Regions from separate parts of the Homo sapiens genome. Here all the other regions are linked to region 1. The links are contacts of gene promoters, found by promoter capture Hi-C in blood cells and fetal thymus (Javierre and others, 2016). All regions are on one chromosome and are shown on one strand. The core of a region is centred on a gene start or on the middle of the fragment in contact, and the rest is flanking DNA. Distances in the headings are between cores, read along the strand shown. Region 1 holds the start of REEP1 (receptor accessory protein 1). Region 2 overlaps RMND5A (required for meiotic nuclear division 5 homolog A). Region 3 overlaps RNF103-CHMP3 (RNF103-CHMP3 readthrough).

Evidence for each region. The method cuts DNA at HindIII sites, captures the fragments that hold promoters and counts their contacts. A CHiCAGO score of 5 or more calls a contact.
Region 2: a contact is called between a fragment that was not itself captured here and the fragment with the promoter of REEP1 in region 1, in 2 of 17 cell types (endothelial precursors and neutrophils). The highest score is 5.7, in endothelial precursors.
Region 3: a fragment that was not itself captured here is called in contact with the fragment with the promoter of REEP1 in region 1 in 1 of 17 cell types (total CD8 T cells); the score reaches 6.2 in total CD8 T cells.

Annotation. Positions count from the first base shown.
Region 1 is chr2:86,335,176-86,339,846 of GRCh38, forward strand. REEP1 (receptor accessory protein 1) reads right to left here and starts at 2,451. Exons shown (of 9, transcript NM_001371279.1): 1 at 2,304-2,451. The coding sequence starts at 2,335. The HindIII fragment of the contact is 12,312 bases long and covers 1-4,512 here.
Region 2 is chr2:86,753,588-86,758,258 of GRCh38, forward strand. The region is part of intron 4 of RMND5A (required for meiotic nuclear division 5 homolog A); the gene reads left to right. Among named protein-coding and RNA genes, the nearest start is that of RNF103-CHMP3, 35 kb to the left of the region's middle. The HindIII fragment of the contact is 3,769 bases long and covers 527-4,295 here.
Region 3 is chr2:86,686,482-86,691,152 of GRCh38, forward strand. It overlaps RNF103-CHMP3 (RNF103-CHMP3 readthrough), which reads right to left. Exons shown (of 8, transcript NM_001198954.1): 2 at 1,751-1,844. Among named protein-coding and RNA genes, the nearest start is that of RMND5A, 31 kb to the right of the region's middle. The HindIII fragment of the contact is 2,243 bases long and covers 707-2,949 here.

The DNA.
Region 1 (4,671 bases), core at 1,201-3,700:
TATCTCTGTGTGGTGGAAATGTGGATGATTTTCAGTTTATCTTTTCTAATTTTCCTGTAATTAACAAATATTGTCTTCATGAAACAGGTATTGCTTATTAAAAATGATGTTCATAACTCATAATCAATATGCTTATGCTAGGTTTCTACAGGGAATTAGGGACTGGGGGATAAGTGGTATCCCTGACCTTTTGGACTTGATAGTGGAAGTAACAATCCCAAATCCCATCAACTCTCCTTGGGCCACATAATGCTGTTCATTTAAATTCTCTGAAGTCTCGGTTCTAGGGAGTGTGGTTGTTTTAGAAAGCAACAGCACATCCCTGAGACACCTCCCAAATATATGCCTCTCCTCTCCACCCCCATCAGTTGCTCATTGTAAAAAAGGGGGAGGAGCCGGGCGTGGTAGCTCACGCCTGTAATCCCAGAACTTTGGGAGGCCGAAGCGGGCGGATCACTAGGTCAGGAGTTCAAGACCAGGCTGGCCAACATGGTGAAACCCCGTCTCTACTAAAAATACAAAAATTAGCTGGGCGTGGTGGCAGGCGCTTGTAATCCCAGCTACTCGGGAGGCTGAGGCAGGAGAATCGCTTGAACCCAGGAGGCGGAGGCTTCAGTGAGCCGAGACTGTGCCACTGCACTCTCCAGCCTGGGCGACAGAGCGAGACTCGGTCTCAAAAAAAAAAAAAAAAAAAGGGCAGGGGTGAGGGAGGTGCTAATAAAACTAATGATAGTCACATGACCCAGTGCTAATAAAACTAATGATAGTCACATGACCCAGGATCAGATGCCCTCACTCCCAGCCCAGCAGGACCTACAGAGAGCCCACCAGCCAGGCCAGCTCAACTCTCCAGCCCCACCCTGAGGGCTTCCCAGAAGCCACTGGCAATATCGATCCCAGAGAGGAAACACCACCCTGAAGGCAAGACAGTGTTGGTCAGGCATGAGGCTGGGCAAGGCGTGTCAGCCACTTTCCTGTATTATTCATGTCGGCTCTGCCAGCAGAAATCTTCTAAATATTTAACATGCCACCTCAAGGTGCAGCGCAAACACCCCGCAGTCAGGAACAGCTGTGGAGAGGCCTTCACGGAATGACTTGGGGGCTGAGAGGCACAGACACTGGCTTTGGGAGGAAAGCCCTGAATGGTGGCGGGAGACAATGCTGAGATCCACTTCGGAAGGGAAAATCAGTAAAGAAGGGAAGGGAGATGGGTGGTGTTTCAAAACGTGGGGAGTGATGGTGCACAATCACTGGGGTCCAGAGCCCCGTGTTCTCAGACAAAGAAAAAGCCCGAGGTGCCTGCCACCCTCCTCCCCGCCTTAGACTCCCCACACCCATTTCAGCCCCTGCTAGCTACAGCAGGTGGCAAATCTGTTCTGACTCAGGCCAGGATGGTTAGGGAAGAACAGGGACTTGGAACAGCCACGTCTATCTCCAAAGGAGAATAAATCCACCGGGGAAGCTCTTCAAACGCCTACAGGTCCTGGGGCTTGAAGGAGAAAATCGGCCCCCACGCCCACCCCCAATGACTTCACACAGACCTCACCCTAGATGACTCTGCGCTCTCCTGCAAGGCCTGGGAGGTGTCATCGCCACCATGCGGGTGGCTGTCACTTGAAAATTTCCCGTGCATTCCTGGAGGTACCTGCCCCTGTCTCTCAATCCCCTGCAAAAGGAGTCGGAGCCGGGGGCTCCAGGCGTTTACTCCAAGATTCACATGCGTCTTCCCATGTCCCAGCTGCCTTTGCCGCTGTCGATGCAGACACCTAAAAAGGAGGATTTTTCCAACCCCACTGGGAGCCCCGCCTCTGCCTCTCCACCCGTTCCGCGCTGACCCTCCAGGCAGCGCCCCTGGTTCGTCTGCGCTGTCCTTTCCACCTGACAAAAGCTGGGGCGGCGGGGCGCGGCGCCGGGCGACCTCACATTTCTGCCAAAGGAGAGAGACGCGTGTCCGCGGTGCGCCCATTCGGGGCCTCTGCAAATCGACCGAGCTGAGGAACAAAGCGGCCAGCGCGCGGCGAGACGCAGCCCCCACGGAACCCCCGAGCGCCCCAGCCCTCGCCGTCCCGGCCCAGCCCCCCGCAAGCGGCCGCCGGCGCCGGCTGCCTCCTGGGCAGCAGCCGCGTCCTGCGCCGCCCGTCCGCCCGCAGGCGTCCTCGGCGGCTACTGTACCTGCTAAATTTAGCTGCGCCGGGTATTAATAGCCCGAGCCACTGGGACCGGGCGCTGTAGGGGCGCGCGCAGCCCGGGGCCGGGGGCGGGGAGGGAGGGGACGGAGGGGCGCGGGGGAGAAGGCCACTTACACCACCAGCCTGGAGATGATCCATGACACCATGGCGGGCAGGCGGGCGGGCGAGGCCCGGGCGGCGCGGCTCGGCTAGGCTGCGGGCGGCGCGGGCTGCTGCGGCGTTCCCGGAACGTCAGTCAGCTCACGGCAGCCGCCGCCAGACTGAGCGCGCCCGCCGCCCTGCCCGGCGTTCGCGCGTTGGCGCAGCCGCGGCACGTTCTGGCGGCGGCGGCGGCGGCCCCAGCCCCCCGGGGCTCGGCGGGCCCGCAGCGATTGGGCGGTGAGCTGGTCAGGGCACCCGCGGGCCCGCCCCGTCCCGCTCGCCCTGGCCCCCGGCTGAAGGCGGGCGCGTCCTGCGCGCTCCCCGGGGCACCGGCCCCGCCAAAGGAACCCTGCAGCGGCCCCGTTTGCAGGGCAGGGACCCGGGTGCTGCCCCACCCTCAGCGTTCCAGCGGAGAAACTGAAGTCCGAACCTGAACCTCGGGAATCTGTCTGCACCTGTCTAGGTGGGATGCTGTCATCCCTCATTCAGCTAGTGCGTTAGCCTCATAAAGGGTTTACCTGGATCCAGACCTAACCTCTTCAGTCTGTCCGTTGCTCAGCACTTTCTGCATAAGAAACAAACCTGGGCGCTTGCCTCCCTACTTAAAATTCTACAGAGTCCCTATATGATCGTGGTACCTGCCTAGAACCGTGTTGCCAAGACCATTCCCCCAAATAGTCCTCTAGCTCTTTTCCCTCCAGGCATCTTGGACTCAAATATTTGCTGTTTCTTCTTCCCTGTCAGTACACGCCACGCCTCATCGTCCTGCCTTGGTTTGATTCAGCTCCTTCTTCTAGGCTGGGCTGAAGGGCTACTTCTTCCTAGGGAAGGCCTTTCCTTGGGGGCTGCTCCGGGCCCTAGGAGGAGACTAGAAGCTGCGACTGCTTAGCACCAGTGCCCCGCTGAGCCACGTTGAACTCTTAGGCAAAAGGGAACTTGTGCACCCTATATAAACGTTTTTATGTATTTTTTAAAATACCGTATTAAATATTATGGTGGTTTTTTTTGTTGTTGTTGTTTTTTTATGAGACAGAGTCTCGCTCTGGGGTGCAGTGGCGCGATCTCGGCTCACTGCAAGCTCCGCCTCCCGGGTTCAAGCGATTCTTCTGCCTCAGCCTCATGAGTAGCTGAGATTACAGGAGTGCGCCACCACGCCCAGCTAATTTTTGTATTTTTAGTAGAGACGGGGTTTCACCATGTTGTCCAGGCTGGTCTCAAACTCCTGACCTCGTGATCCGCCCGCCTTGGCCTCCCAAAGTGCTGGGATTACAGGAGTGAGCCACCTATTATGTATTTTAGTTGCTGAATTTTATGGCACCTCTTAAATGTTGCACCCTCACTGAGCGCCTCACTCTGCTCACCCTAGTCCCGGCCGCAGATAGTACATTATTCTGTTACACTGGAAACGCTTTGTCCTCTACTCCTAGGCTCTGCTGCTGCTTTTCCCACCCTCCAATAGCTTAGGTTCTGCGTGGTGCTCCCAGCGCCCTGTCCTTTGCTGATGATGGTGTCATGTATAATTCAGTGTCAGATGTGAGAAGCGCAGGAGACAGCTTAGTACTCTCAGATGTAGCAGAATCTGTGCGTGCGTGTGCCTGATATAGTCAGAAGAAAGACTTCACGGACAACAAAGGGACTGCAGATGAGACATGCTCTCATATCTCAGGTCTCCAAAGAACCCATAAAATAGCTGTAATGTAGCAGTTTTTTCATGCTGCCTTGACCCAGTTTTGAGGCTCAGGCTGGAGGCTGGTCAGTTCCCCTTCTCCAGCAGTCTATTAACTGCATACCCCCAACCACTTCCGTTAGCAGGCTCTCACACGCGGGACACTATACACCTGTCCAGGGCTAGGCACCAAACAACTAGTTACAGCCCCTGTACTTCAGAACCCGCTGAAATTATCCAAATTAGCCTATCCTATATCTGCTTGCCTTATTTCACTCTTTCCTTCCCTCAGAAACCATGATAAAGATGTTTGTCCACAATTCCCCTCTCTCCCTCTCTCTGTGACAGACCCTGGCCCTGAGTGGACCTGCATGGTGTGCTGTGATCTCTCCAGGAAACTGTGGATATAAAAAGCTCTAAAACTCTTTCTAGCTTCTCTCTCTTGATCTGTGTCTGGCCCCACCATATCTCACTCAAGGTAAGGTTATACGGGTAAAACAATGCTCCACGGGGAAAAGCTTTCCATACTTACTAGGCAAAGAGAACACCAAAGCTAGATCAGGACAGCACCCAGCACAGAGGACCTTCCTGAGACCTCCCTTCCCCTCCATCCATACCCCTCACCTATGCTCCCTGCGTCAGAAAGGCTGTTACCCATCTTGCAGGGGGAGCAGC
Region 2 (4,671 bases), core at 1,161-3,660, 420 kb after region 1:
ACTTTGAGAACTCTCTGTAAGAAAACTCAATCAGAAAACACATTAGAGATTTTTAGATATATTTATCTTACCTGTGGTAGACTTCAGAGAAATCAAAGGAGAATTATTTTATTTATTTTGGCTAAGTGAAATATGGGGGGTGTGCAATATGAGAAAATGGTTGGAGCTTATTTCACTTATCAGTTGGTCTGAATTCCCATGAGAGAAAAGGGTTTTCTGTTTCCAGGCTACACCACCACTTTGTGTGGGCTGACATTACAACAAGCACTATTGTTCAGCCAGTGCAAGTTTGATATTTAAGCTTCCTTCATGTGCTGGGTTTTGCTGGGTTTTATGCTAGCATTCTAAGAAATTATTGGTTATTGGAACTAGGTGGTGTGGATGAAGAGAACAAATATTTTTATAAAGCTACTCTATTCTTAATTACTGTGGATTTTGGTAATTGACCATGAACCTCTCATTGATAAGAATTGTCTGAAATTACTCTGTAAGCTATAATAAATATTATTCTAGAGCAGGGTCAGCAAGCTTTTCCATAAAGGACCAAGTAGGAAATATTTTAGGCTTTTCATTTCACATAAGGTCTCTGTCGCATATTCTTCATTTTATTTTACAACCCTTTAAAAATTTAAAAACCCATTCTTGGCCATCTGCTATACAAAACAGGCAGCAAGCTGTATGTGGCCTGTGCCATAGTTTGCTGGCCCCAGTCCTAAAATTTTTTACTGTGAGGATTACCAGGTTATTTGTAATAAATAGCTCATAAAATAAAGGGAAGAAACTGGATTATAGAAGCAGTGATTTGTTGTGAGCTTATAGCTTTGGAATCCTGGTATTTTAAAACCAGAAAAATTAACCATCAGTGTTACAGGGTTAGCTGGGAAGTTGACTTTTATAAAATGTACACTTTTTCCCTTAAAATTTAGTTCCACTAACCCATTTAATTCTTCATAGCTTAGTTTTTTCTTTCTAATCATTTCTCAGTTCTTTCTCCTTTTTGAGACAGGGTCTCACTGTCACCCAGGCTAGAGTGCAGTGGCATAATCATGGCTCACTCCAGCCCCAACCCCCCAACCTCCCGCCTTAGCCTCCTGAGTAGTTGGGACTACAGGACTGTGCCGTTATGCCCAGCTAATTAAAAAAAATTTTTTTTTGTAGAGACAGGATCTCACTATGTTACCCAGGCTGGTTTCGAACTCCTGAGCTCAAGTGATTCTCCCACCTCGGCTTCCCAAAGTGCTGGAATTACAGACTTGAGCCTCTGTACTTGGCCATTTCTCAGTTCTGAGAAAATTTTGTGTAGTTCTAAAACCAGCCCAGATGACTAGACAGAAATTCCTGTATAAATTTATATAAAATTCTTGTATAAATTATAATAGATCTCACTTAAGAACTGTATCTCTGTGTAAGATGCATATTACCTTTGTAGAATTTGTTTAAGCAAATTTCAGATTGTGACACATCTGGGAGATAAATTCAACCAAATACCTCTAACACCTCTTAAACAAAATATGGCAACAACTACTTTTTTTTTTTTTTTTCCCAAAGAGACAGAGTCTTGCTCTGTGGCCCAGGCTAGAGTGCAGTGGGATGATCATAGCTCACTGCACACTCTCAAACTCCTGGGCTTAAGTAATCCTCCTGCCCCGGCCTCCTGAGTAGCTAAGACTACAGGTGCACACCACCACACCTGGCTAATTTTTAAATATTTTATAGAGACAGGATTTCTCTATGTCGCTCAGGCTGGTCTCAAACTTCTGGCCTCAAGTGATCCTCCTGGAGCGTCAGCTGCCCGAAGTACTGGGATTATAGGCATGGGCCAATGTGCCCGAGAAAGCCTACATACATATATGAACATGTAATGGGTTTCCCAGTTGTTTTATAGTGATTAGCAAATAATATTTGGGTTGTTATTCAAGGTAATATTCACTTATCTATGCGTTTCTTAGGTTTTTTCATTAAACTTTGTTCATATGTGCTAGTCATGTACGTACTATGACTATATCTGTAGTCACTGGCACATAGTATTTGCTACCTTAGCCTTCAGAGTACTCCAGACTTTTCTCCTAAGAGCCTTTTAAACTTTGTGCGTATATAAGATATGTTTCTTATTGATAAGCATGTTATGTATATTGATTATTTCTGTAAATTTTGTCTATTATTTGTTGCCTTAAAACAATTCCTCTCAGGCAGAGAGAGGACTTGTTCCATAAGTAAAAATTTTCTCATTTCATGTTTCTGGGAGTAGTGTTTAATATCAGCATGAGGGAATGTAGTGGTAATCATAGTTAACTCTGCTTGAGTGGTTATTGTATGCCTAGCATCGTTCTAAGCATTTTACGTGTCTTAACCTATTCAACCCTCATATTAACCTATGAGGTAAGTCATCTTACAGAGAAGCAATTAGGGCCTAGAAGATCCTCTGTGAAAAAAAGTCAAAAGATTATATGAGAAATGCTTTACATAATAGTCCCCCAGTATTCTCATTTGAGGTTCATTTTAACTTATTAAGTGTATCATCAAGCCAGGTGCAGTGGCTCACACCTGTAAGCCCAGCACTTTGGGAAGCTGAGGTGGGCAGATCGCTTGAGCCCAGGAGTTCGAGACCAGCCTGGGCAACATAGCAAAACCCTATCTCTACAAAAAAATAGAAAAATTAGCTGGGTATGGTGGTGTACGCCTGTAGTCTGAACTACTCAGGAGGCTGAAATGGGAGGATCACTTGAGCCCAGGAGGCGGAGTCTGCAGTGAACCAAGACCACACCACCACTCCAGAGCCGAATCCTGTCTCAAAAAATAAGAAAATAAATAGAAGTAAAAACGTACCATCAGTAATCCTACAGTAAAGAAACTCATTTAACTTGGTATAACCCAGTGTTTTCTCTGTGTATTTGACCAATCTTGTTTTCCCTCCAGATAACACATTTAAAACCCATAAAATTGGAGTTATACAAAACATAAGATTTAATAGAAATCGTCATTACAACAATTCAGATTTTTCCAATTCTTGCCTATTGTGGGTGCAGAGCAGATACTGACTAAGCATCTTTCATGAGCTAGGTACAGAAAATTCCCTTTACTCAACTTACAGCAAAAGTTGAATGATATGGGACTCCAATTTGGGGAATTCTAGTTAAGGTACAAGGCGGGAGATATCTGCCAGTTATGCAGCATCCCATTTGTTCCTGCTGGGAAGGATATCATGGAGCTCACAAGGGAAAAGAGGAAGGAGAGGATGCAGCAATTCCTCCAGACTGCCTATGCGGTGAGAAGGCAGAGGCCAGCCAAAAATTTGAGGTGGCTAGGCCGGGCACGGTGGCTCATGCCTGTAATCCCAGCACTTTGGGAGGCCAAGGCGGGCGAATCATCTGAGGTCAGGAGTTCAAGACGAGCCTGACCAACGTGGAGAAACCCCATCTCTATTAAAAATACAAAATTAGCCAGGTATGGTGGCGCATGCCTGTAATCCCAGCTACTCAGGAAGGCTGAGGCAGGAGAATCGCTTGAACCCGGGAGGCGGAGGTTGCGGTGAGCCAAGATCGCGCCACTGCACTCCAGCCTGGGCAACAAGAGTGAAACTCAGTCTCAAAAAAAAAAAAAAAAAAAAAAAAAAAAAAAAAGTGGAGGTGGCTAAAGGCCATTGAGGGCCTAGGGGAATGGTGATATTGTGGAGAGAAGTGGCAGAACAACACCTGATTACATAGATCTAATCAGGACCTTGCCTGCTCCTGTGTTCCGTGCCCTTGTACCTCTGAGTTTGTACAGATTTTCCCCCTCATCCAGATTTCTTTTATGCTCACCCAGATTGTTTTATTTGCTTTTTGAATTTCTCTTGGCGCCTAGAGTAGTGCTTACCTCATAGTAGGCCCTCAATGAATAACAGTAATCTGCAGGAGAATTTAGAGCAAACTTGTCATCCTCTTCCATGGTGGCAGATAGAAAGCCAAAAATAGTGTTAACGAGAGAATAGTAACTTAATACAACGAGGTGGGGGAAATATTAGAAAAAATAGGAACTGTCCTTGTAGCTATGCCATTATTAACATACATATTGAAAGAAAGCACTATCTTTAGGGGAAGCTACTTGGTTGCCTTCCTAAACGTGTCTCAAAGAGTAATACTACCTTGCTGGATTTGCCACAGTCTAGTATCTGACTTTCAGCTTTGCAGACTTGGAAACTTGTTTTTGGTGTCCTTATTTTGTTTTGTTTTCACTAAGAACAGGCCTTTAAAAACGATAAAAACCTGAATTGCTAAGCTGCGTACATAGTTTGGATTATTAGGGGCTGTGAAACAAGCTTGTGGTAGGCAGGTCCATGTGGAAGGCACATGAGCTTGCAAAGCCTGGAGTTGGAACAAGAGGAGATTGTTCTAGAAAATGTTCAAAGTTCTCAGGCTAAAATGTCCTGATGCCATTATGTCCACCATGGAGGTTGTGTTGCAGAGCCGTTGGGCAGTTCAGACTTCATTCACTGACTCCTTTTCTCAAAATTGTCCTTGGCTTGCCTTGGTCGAGTTTTGAGTCAGCATTAAGTATCCCAATAGGTAATAAATAAGAGTACAAAATCAAAAGGCACAACAAGATAAAAATACAGTGAAAAGTAAATCTCCCCACCTTTGCCTTCTAATCACAGTTACTCTCCAAACAGGCAGCCACCATTAACTGTATTAT
Region 3 (4,671 bases), core at 578-3,077, 350 kb after region 1:
AATAATTTTTCCCGTGTGGCTGTTATTGTGCTCTACCATTTTATATTTTATTAGTGATCCAGTGATTTTTGAAGACAAGGTATGAGACAGAAGAAAATATTATAGGCCTAGATCCATGGACTCTTCTGATGGGGTTGATGAAGAGTTTTAACCGATATTTATTTATTTATTTATTTATTTATTTATTTATTTATTTATTTATTTTGGGGATAGGGTCTCACTCTGTCGCCCAGGCTAGAGTGCAGCGGTGTAATTATAGCTCACTGTAGCCTCAAACTCCTGGGCTCAAATGATCCTCCTGCCTTAGCCTTCAGAGTAGCTAGGACTACAGGCATGTGCCACCATGCCTTGTTATTTTCTTGTTGTTGTAGAGAAGAGATCTTGCTATGTTGCCCAGGTGTTTTCAAACTACTAGCCTCAACCAATCCTACCATGTTAGCCTCCCAAAGTGCTGGGATTACAGATGAGAGCCACCATGCCCAGTCAAGAATTTTAATCCTTTGAAGCATTTTACTACACCAGACAACAAGGAACTCTGGTAATCCAAATTGTTCCATTCCTTTGTGCATTGTCTGTGGTAAACAACTTACACATCCAGCAATGGCTCTGGCAAAACTGCAAAGACTCTTAACTCCAAAGCACAGACATTTGACAAGTAAAAGGGCAGATTATTTTCGGTGGTTACTGGAACATTGAAAGACAGTAAAGCTTTTGTTAAAAAACAAACAAACAAAAAAAAGTCGTAGTCAGTGAATAGCCTCAGGAAGCAAGCTATTTAGTAGCAGTTATTTAATGTCCAGAAAAGGAAAATGCACACAGTAATGAGAACCTAAATTAGAGTAAATAAAATGCTAGGGCCAGCTCGAGCCCAGGATTGAGTCCAGTTTGGGCAACATAACGAGATGCTGTCTCTAAAAACAAACAAACATAAAATACTAGGACAAGATGTAGCATGCGAAAATGAAAAGTTTTCTCTCTCAATACCATTAGTCAACGTATTGATGATACATGCCATAAACGGAAACAAATGGTTCTCTATGTAGGTTGATGAATCAACAGATTTTACCAATAAATGTCATATTATAACATTAGTGGTTGTTGTTTGAGATGGAATCTCGCTCTGTTGCCCAGGCTGGAGTGCAGTGGTGCGATCTCGTTCACTGCAACCTCAGCCTCCCAGGTCCAAGCGATTCTCCTGCCTCAGCCTCTCAAGTAGCTGGGACTACAGGCACAGGCCACCACACCTGGCTAATTAATATCATAACATTTGTAAGATTTTTAAACAAGGTGGTTTTCAAGACTTTTTTTTTTTCTGGTGCAAAGAGCTGTCCCAAACAAGCAAAATCCCGGATAAATTTTTTTTTTTTTTTTTTTTTTTTTTGAGACGGAGTCTCGCTCTGTCACCCAGGCCGGAGCGCAATGGCGCGATCTCGGCCCACTGCAACCTCCGCCTACCGGGTTCAAGTGATTGTCCTGCCTCAGCCTCCCAAGTAGCTGGGATTACAGGCATGCACCACGACGCCCAGCTAATTTTGTATTTTTAATAGAGACAGGTTTCTCCATTTTGGTCAGGCTGGTCTGAACTGCTGACCTCAGGTGATCCGCCCGCCTCGGCCTCCCAAAGTGCTGGAATTACAGGCGTGAGCCACAGTGCCCGGCCCCGGGTGCATTTAATGTTCTGTCGTTGTATCTGGAATGAAAAGGTCTGATCTGGAAGAAATATGTGGGCATCTATACTGACAGGACTCACCAGTGAACTCCAGGAGCGGCAAAGGGAACACAGGAAATTCTGACTTCGTTCACAACACACTCTTTTCTTCATAGAGAGGTGCTGGTGTCAAAGCCTGTCAAAGAAGAAATTTTAAAAGTCTGGATGATGTGACAAAAATAGTCAACTTTCTTAAATAGAGCTACAGTCTGATCATGTACTGAAGATGAGATTTACTCATCTATCTCTTGACAAACTGGATTTCTATGAAAAAATAGTTTTCTGATATTCACGGGAAAGCAACGAACACCTCGGTGGTTTTTAACTTCTTTTTTTTGAGATGGAGTTTTGCTCTTGTTGCCCAGGCTGGAGTGCAATGGCTCAATTTTGGCTTTTGGCAACCTCTGCCTCCCGGGTTCAAGCAATTCTCCTGCCTCAGCCTCCCGAGTAGCTGGGATTACAGTCATGCGCCACCATGCACGACTAATTTTGTATTTTTAGTAGAGACTTGGATTTCTCCATGTTGGTCAGGCTGGTCTCGAACTCCTGACCTTAGGTGATCCTCCCATCTCGGCATCCCAAAGTGCTGGGATTACAGGCGTGAGCCACCATGCCTTGTTGGTTTTTAACTTCTTAAACTTGTAAATAAACTTTTTCTTGTTTTTGTTTTTTGAGACAAGGTCTCATTCTGTTGCCCAGGCTGGTGCAGTGGCATGATCAGAGCTCACTGCAGCCTCAACTTCCCGGCCTCAGGCCATCCTCCCACCTCAGTCTCATGAGTAGCTCAGACAACACATGCATGCCATCACACCTGGCTATTTTTCTTTCTTTTTTTTTTGCGGAGGCAGGATCGCCTTATATTGCTCAGGCTGGTTTTTCTTCTTTAAGAAGCATTTGAAATTGTCATATTTATGTTGAAAATTGTGTATTTGACAAGCAAATACACAAGCACAAGTTTCAATTAAGGGGTAGAGTCCATTCTTTAGTTTTAGTTTAAAAAAAGTGTTTAATACACTTTTAATACTTTTATATAGACCAATTAAAGAGATCAAGAAAGTAATACATGTATATAATAATTTTGTAATTGCTAGGCCTACATGGGAGTGTGTTAGTCCATTTTGTGTTGCCATAAAGGAATACCTGAGGCTGGGTAATTTATAAAGAGGTTTATTTTGCTCACGGTTCTGCAGGCTATACAAGAAGCATGATGCCAACATCTGCTCCTGGCTAGGCCTTCAGGAAGCTTCCAATCATGGCTGAAGGTGAAGGGGGCCCAGAATGTCACAAAGTGAGAGAGGAAAAGGGAGAGAAGGTGGAGGGCAGTGTTTTCTTAAACAACTAATTCTCGTATAAACTAACAGAGCAAGAACTCATTCATTACCACCAGGACAGCCTCAAACCATTCATGAGGGATCTGCTCCCATGATCCAAACTCCTCCCATTAGGCCCCACCTCCAACTTTATCATATTTCAACATGAAATTTGGAGGGAACAAATATCCAAACCGTATCAGGCAGCCTGATCATGTCACTCAGTAAGGAAACGCTTTTAAACTGTCTTAAAACAGTCTTAGGCCATTTTTATTCATATTGTTTTCTTTGCAGTTTTACTAACTTTCTTTTAACATTTTCAATAAATTTTCATGTTGTAAATAACATTAATTAAAATCAATTTACAACCTTTATATAAATTAAATCAACTCCTTCTACCTTTAGAAAAATTTCATTTTGTCTTAAGCCTGTATAACAAAAATGTATTATTTTTACTATATGAGTTTTAAAATTTTATGAAAAGCCACTAGGGAGATTCATTTCAAGAAAGGTAAGCTAATCTTAACTATCTGATTTTATTTCAGGGACAGATGGTTAAAAAGACATAGCAACCACAGTAGAATCTCATTTAGTAGAAATTTGTGATAAGAGTTTGGGACCTACTTGGATAAGGTAAAAATTGAAGTAGACATAATGTCTTTTTTTGGGAGGAGGAACCACATAAAAAGATAGGCAAATAAGTAAGCCAAAATAAACAGATCTTCAGGAAAAGATATCATTCTCTACTCAAAAGAGCATTGGCAATTATTATTGGATTGTTATATCTACAACTTACTGATCATGCTAATGTACTATGGGCTTAGATAAAATAATTTTTATACAGAGGTCCCCTGAGACCTGGAAATTATTTCAAGAGCTCCTCCAGAGGAGAAAGACTATGCTGGTCAACCTGCCTGTGGGATAAAAAAAATTGCATAGTATCTCCTCATCTCAGTACAAAGTACTGTATAGAGTCTATCACTTAGAATTTTAAAAATATTAATCATGTTCATGACATCCTGTAGCAAATACACTGTAATTTGTAACAATATACAAAAAATAAAAAGTATATGATACTATCTATAAATATACTTTTCATTTTAATAATTATATATAATTTTAGCAAATTATATACATAATACATTAAATTATATATATATAAAATTTCAATAATTTCTTTTTTTTTGAGACAGAGTCTTGCTGTGTCATCAAAGCTGGAGCATAGTGGCATGATTGCAGCTCACTGCTGCCTCGACCTCCTGGACTTAAGAGATCTTCCTGGCTCAGGCTCTTGAGTAGCTGGGACTACAGGCATGTGCCACCATGCCCGGCTAATTCTTATTTTAAAATTTTTAAAATATTTTGTAGAGATAGGGTCTCACTATGTTGTCCAGGCTGGTCTTGAACTCTTGGGCTCAGTGATCTTCCCACTTTGGCCAACCAAAGTGCCAGGATTACAGATGTAAGACACCACACCTGGCCTAATTTTAATAATTTCTTTCTGTACCTCAATAAATCATTTTTCATACATTTAGGGATGCATACACCCACTTTGGAAGCTACTGTTCCAGTCATAGAATTTTATCATTAACACTACCAACTAACCTCATTTGATTAAGATTTATTGACCATTCCACCCCACAACAACAGAAT